2 separate regions of the Homo sapiens genome follow, and region 2 is linked to region 1. The links are contacts of gene promoters, found by promoter capture Hi-C in blood cells and fetal thymus (Javierre and others, 2016). All regions are on one chromosome and are shown on one strand. Each heading gives the region's core, a stretch centred on a gene start or on the middle of the fragment in contact. The rest is flanking DNA. Distances are from core to core; before and after follow the strand shown.

Region 1 (2,964 bases), core at 331-2,830:
GATGGAAACTCCTAATTATTAAATGCTGAGGTCTGTCAAAGATGAAACTGGAGGCTGGACACACCAAATATCTGTATGACAGAGCTGTACATCTAGACGGTGGACATCTAGCATCCCTGTCTATATGCAAGTCAGCTGGCTGCAAGACCACGTGCTGCTGAAAATCTCACTGTGGTCATGACAGTCCACCCAGTGGCTCAGACCCTGAGATTCTGTTCACACTTCCTACACTCTTCCTTACTCGTCTGTGTTCTTCCAACTCCTCATCTTGCCTAATTCCTCAGGCAGCACCTCATCCTGTAAGTCTTCATTTCCAGGCTTAAGAGATGTCAGCCATCTGTGTCTTTATTGTACAGCCAGCACAAGTGAACACTTGAACACAGGCATCCCTGCATTGTTGTTCTGAACCTTTATGTGTATTAACAACTAATTTCTTGGTGATGACTGACTCATGAGGCAGAGAATGATGTTGAGGGATGAATCCAATTGACACTGGACATGTCTCCGGAGCCAGGACTGAACTGAATTCACAATAAATAATGTAGCCTCGGGGTACCAGAAGGGAATGGATTCACCCTCTGAGAGCTACAAAAGAATTTTAGGAAATTCTCATCTCCCTGGCCCTTCAGACAGTGGTCATTTTCTTGGTCTTCCAAGAGAATGACAAAGTTTCAGAAAGCCTATCTGAGGAAGGTGAAGGGCAGTGAGAGGGTGCACGGGTGGAAAAGCCCTCTCAAGAGTGACGTGGGCCTTCCCCTCGAGCTCCCCAGATGGGGCGTCCCAGATGGCACCAGCGCAATCTTGTTCTCAACCAGGATCCCGGACAAAGACCTAGAGATCCAAGCCGACGGCAGGCCAAGCTCTGGCCCGAGACTGAGGCTTCTGCTTCTCAGGAGATGAGAGTTTAACAATAACTTCGTGGATTTCAAAAAGAAGAAAAAGGTCTCAGGGCACCGGAAAAGGTGTATTCGGGTTGAGGGCGTGGGCTCAGAATCGGGTCTACCTCGTACGGGATGTGAGACTTCAGGCAGACTGCTCGGCCTTTTCAAGGCTTTAAATGGAGCTAAAGGGTATACGACATGACGTTCGCCCGGTGTTTAGGAATATGGGGCGTGACTTTCCAAGCAGGCGGCTGGAGCCAGGGAGACCACAGGCCGCTGCAACACAAACCAGCACCTGAACAAGCTTGGTCAGCCAGCGGTACACCTCCGCCAACCCCAGAAGCCGAACAGATGCGCCCCGAAACGTCATTTCCGCGCGCCAAGGGGCGGGGCCGGTACCGGGTGCGGAAGTCGCTCCAGGGGTCACTGGGAAGTGTAGTTTTCGAGACAGAGGCGCTCAGAAGGAGGGTCACAGTAGGGCCAGGCACTCTTCTCGGGAGCTCCTACGTGTTTTATGCACGTGGTTAAGAAAAAAGAGGGAGAATTCAGGTGCCACAGTGGCCATTCTCCGGTGACCGGAGCGTGTTACTCAGAAACGGATCCGTCAGAGGCCAATGGGAGCTGCCGGCCTTCAGGGCGCGCCTGGTGGCGCCGAGCATCCTGGGAGGTGTGGTCCGGGCGCTGTGCCGAGGATTCGGGGTAGTGTAGTCCTGGCGCCCCGCTGGAGGAGCTCCCCAGCTGGTGGCTGGAGCGACCCCTTGTTCTTTGGTGGCGCTGGTGAGTGAGGCTCCCGCGGGACCCTTGCCGCAGCCGTACCCTTTTCTGCGCGAAAAGGAAGGTCCCGAAAGGCTGGACTATGGGCTGAATTTGGGGACCGTGCGGGTGGCGCGGGGGTGGTGATTGTGGTGGGAACGCGCTGGCGTGGCGCAGGCCGTCCTCTCCCAGATGTCTTATTTTGGGGGTGTGGGCGTGCATCTCCAGGGGAGTTGGGTGAAGCCCATCCGTGAAACTGGATGGTGATGAGTGGGGGATCGGGCTCTCTCTCCTAGGGTTCTTGTGGGTGGGGACAGGTTCGGCTTTGGCTGAAGTCGGGTATTGGGAAAGGGAGTCGCTGATGCCATAAGTCCCCGGTTTTGGGGGAGTTGAATAAATAAGCTTTTTGGGGGAATGGTATTTCCCAGGTGGTGGAATGGGAACCATCCCTGGGGCCATGTGTCCCCGAGGCATTGGTCGGTTGAGGGCTAGTCTCTTGGGGCCACACTATTCTTCGGCTTTGCTGGAGTGGAATGAGGAGCGGTCTGGCTTGACCAAACAAGCCAAGGTTAGACTGGATCTGGGGTGGCCATTTTGCCGCGATCTTAGGGTTTCACTTTGGTTGGTCACCCCCGGGTTCGGGCGTTGGAGGAGGAAGTCTGGCTGGGACGCACAGGACAGGTTTTTTCCAAAGGTCCCAGGGACCGTCATTGATCGCAAGAATTACGGATTCCCAGGCCCCTGGTGTGGCCAGGCTTTGGGATTTTACATTCCATTTAAGTTTTTATTGCGGAGAAATTTCAAACAGCCAGAAGTAGATAGAACTCTATAGACCAGATCTCCATCACCCAGATTCAACACTTAAAACCTTATGACCAATCTTGATTCATCTCAGAATGGACACAGAGAATCCTTGCAATCCAGAGTTCACCGTCACTGCCCTTACTGTGTAAGAGCACGGTCTCCACAGCCACATTTCCTCTAGGCTCTGTCACTTTATAGCTGTGTCACCTTGGGCAAGATGCTGACTTCACTGTACCTCAGTTTCCTCGATTTTATCCTAAAGAGGATAATAGCATCTATCGTATTGGGTTGTTGAAAGGATAGAATGAGGTGAAACTCCTACAGTGGCTGTAACAGTCTCTGGTGTATACTAAGTGTTCAGTGAATATTACCTTTCATTAATAACAGGCACAGAGAAGGTCGCTTCATGCTCAGCGTCAACAGCATATCAGGGCAGGTCGTGCTTTCAACCTGTACCCCAGCTGTGTTCCCAGGAAGCTGCCCGCAGTTCTTTTCTCCTTTTCTTCTGTGGCAGGTTCATTCCTGA
Region 2 (2,964 bases), core at 149-2,648, 1.7 Mb after region 1:
GGATATTGACCAGTTTAACACTCATGTGTAAATACATTTCAGCATTCCTGCTTGCTTTATGTATTTTATCTCTCTTTATCTTATCTTTTTGAGACAGGGTCTTGGTGTGTCACCCAGGCTGGAGTGCAGTGGTGCAATCATGTCTCAGAGCAACCTCTACCTCCCGGGCTCAAATGATCCTCCCACCTCAGCCTCCCAAGTAGCTGGGATTACAGGTGTGAGCCACTGTGTCTGGTCTGAATAAAGGAATTTTTAACTTTTAATTTTAACTACTTTAAATTTAAAAACTGATGTTTGGTTCAGCGATTTGAAAACAGTATATTTGGAACCGCTTGGATATGAGAATCTGCTTTTTAACCATACATTGATGAAATCTAAATAGAGAACAAGCATTTCCGATGACAGCTGCTCTCTCAGATTGAAATGCACTGCAAATGTAAAATACACACCGGATTTCAAAGTCTTTGCAAAAAAGAATGTAACATATCACATTCCTTTTTTTATTGATTGATTACATGTTGAGTATTGATTGGTTACATGTTGAAATGATATTTCGGGTATAATAAAGTGGGGTCAGGGAAAAATATTTTTCCCAAATAGGAAAAATAAATGGGTAAAATAAAGCGTACTATCAAAATCAATTTTACATTTCGTTTTGCTTTTATTTATTTATTATTTATTTTTGAGACCAAGTCTAGCTCTGTCGCCCAGGCTGGAGTGCAGTGGCGAGATCTCGGCTCACTGCAACCTCCGCCTCCTGGGTTCAAGCGATTCTCCTGCCTCAGCCTCCAAGTAGCTGGGATTAGAGGCGCGTGCCACCACGCCCAGCTAATTTTTATTTCTTTCCTTTTTTTTTTTTTTTTAGTAGAGAGGGGGTTTCGCCATGTTGGCCAGGTTGGTCTCGAACTGCTGAACTCAAGTGATCTGCCCGCCTTGGCCTCCCAGTGTTGGGATTACAGGCGTGAGCCACCGCGCCCGGCCTTCTTTTTGTTTTTAAACGTGGTATTGACATTTTAAGATGACATCTGCAACTCGCAACACTGGGACAAGGGATTCTGGGTCATAAATTCTCCCATTCCTCATTTACTCTGCAGCACCGGGTGGCTGCGAACTCCGCTCTTCTGCTTGGGTTTCCGCATCACCAGCAGCTTCTTTCCTTCCCAGGTGTCGCCGCCTGCTTTCTGCAGCCGCTGCCTGGGAGGGGTTCCGAGGTTCTGGGCAGCCACAGCCCCGGAGGCCTTACAGGAGCGACCTGGCAATTCCCGCCGCCGGCCGCCAGAGGAAGCTGCTTTGCTGCTGTCGTTGCCCAGCAACTCGTAGCCCGGAAGCAGTACCCCGTCTCGCTCGGTTCCGCGGCGGCCACGCTCCGGGAGACTTCCGGCAGGGCGGGCGCGGGGTCTTGGCGAACGGTCTTCGGAAGCGGCGGCGGCGCGATGACCACGCTACGGGCCTTTACCTGCGACGACCTGTTCCGCTTCAACAACATGTGAGTGACACGCGCCTAGGGCCAGCCGCTCTTGGCCGGGCCTCGCTTCCCGGCCCCGCCAGCTCCGGCCCCAGCCGCGCCTTCCCGGCCGGACCCCAAGCCCGGACGGGGACCCGCGAGAACCACCCCCCGCCGGCCAACGTGGGCGCCTCCCTGGGGCCACAGGGTCCAGGGAGAGGTGGGCCTGGAGTCGACGCACGCCGGCCTTGGCGACCTTGGCCGAGGTGCTCAAACTTTGTCTCTGGACCCTGCGAGCTGGCAGGTTCTGGGGCAGCGCTCGGGCCTCCGCTCGTGGTCGCTGTCAGGAGGCGCTGGGGTGATGGGGCGAGCTGGAGACGCGGCCTGGAGCCCACGACCTGGGCTTCTCGCCCTGCCCTACTGCTTGCTGGTTCGTGGCCGGGCCGCGCCTCTTCTGGGCAGAGGGCACCGCCGACGGCCAGGCCGCAGAGGGGGCTTGCGAGGATCGGAAGCTGGTCAGCAGCTGTTGGGATGTGTACATCGTGAAGCCCACCTGGTGGCCGTGGTTAAATTGTATCCAAATGAAATGACACTGATCACTGCGTCCCCTGCAGCAGATGCTGTCTCAGTCATGGTTAGTGTTTGCAAGTTTAGTTACTGTAGCTGCGCACCCCGGTGTACACACCTTTCCTCTGTGAGGAGTCACGGCAGATCTTAGGGGAGGCTCGCTGTGCCCAGAGCCCTGGATGCAGTTTCTTTGGATTCGAGTTAAGGCCAGACCTCTGATTTGCAGGTACCAATTTTTTTTTTTTAAGAAAACATTTTATTATGAAGATTCCCACACATTTAGAAAAGTTGGAGGAATTTCACCATGTGCTTTTATAGACACTTTTCCTGGATTCTGCAGTTAACATTTTGCTACGCTGGTATCTCTCCTTCCTTCCCATCTATCAGTCCTGGATCCACTTTAAAAAAACAACAGGGCGGTATGTGAAAACTAAGGACAAAGTGGTTCCGATTCAAGTGTCAGGAAGATGGAAAGAACTATGGGATAAGATGGCTGGGAACATTTCAAAGAGGGGGTGAGCCTTGAAGATGGATAACACATTGGTAAGTGAGGAAGACGGAAGTTCCGGAGAAGGAGCGGGGCATGAAAATGGGGAAACTTGAAGTGCGGTCAGACAACTGGGATCAGTGCGAATCTAGTGGCTGGTTTCTGCCACTGAGCAGTCAGGAAGAAATGGGTGAAACAGGAGGGGTTTAGACTTGATCCTGTGGAAAGAATTTTCTGTTGGGCCAGTCTGGTAGCTACGGTGACTTGTGTTGAACTCACTGTTCCCTGCATTGTTCTGAGTGCCCACGTAATAATCCAGTTAATCCTCACGATTCTTTGAGGTGCTGTCACCCCCATTTTGTGTATGAGTAAACCAAGGCATGGCAAGCACAAGTGAATTGGCCCAGGTGAGAATGAGTAAAGCGAGGAACTTCATCCAAGGATATTGGCTCTGGAGCAGTGGTTC

What was found. Contacts are between HindIII fragments. The CHiCAGO score rates a contact against its expected background, and 5 or more counts as called.
Region 2: a contact is called between the fragment with the promoter of NAA20 here and the fragment with the promoter of ZNF133 in region 1, in 6 of 17 cell types (naive CD4 T cells, total CD8 T cells, non-activated CD4 T cells and 3 more). The highest score is 11.1, in naive CD4 T cells.

Annotation. Positions count from the first base shown.
Region 1 is chr20:18,286,947-18,289,910 of GRCh38, forward strand. ZNF133 (zinc finger protein 133) reads left to right here and starts at 1,581. Exons shown (of 7, transcript NM_001352452.2): 1 at 1,581-1,658. RefSeq lists enhancers at 1,154-1,203, 1,283-2,188, 1,294-1,633, 2,194-2,313. The HindIII fragment of the contact is 851 bases long and covers 1,184-2,034 here.
Region 2 is chr20:20,015,964-20,018,927 of GRCh38, forward strand. It overlaps NAA20 (N-alpha-acetyltransferase 20, NatB catalytic subunit), which reads left to right and starts at 1,399. Exons shown (of 6, transcript NM_016100.5): 1 at 1,399-1,486. The coding sequence starts at 1,434. RefSeq lists enhancers at 906-1,085, 1,700-2,200, 2,662-2,964 and silencers at 1,406-1,475, 1,526-1,645. The HindIII fragment of the contact is 8,583 bases long and covers 1-2,964 here.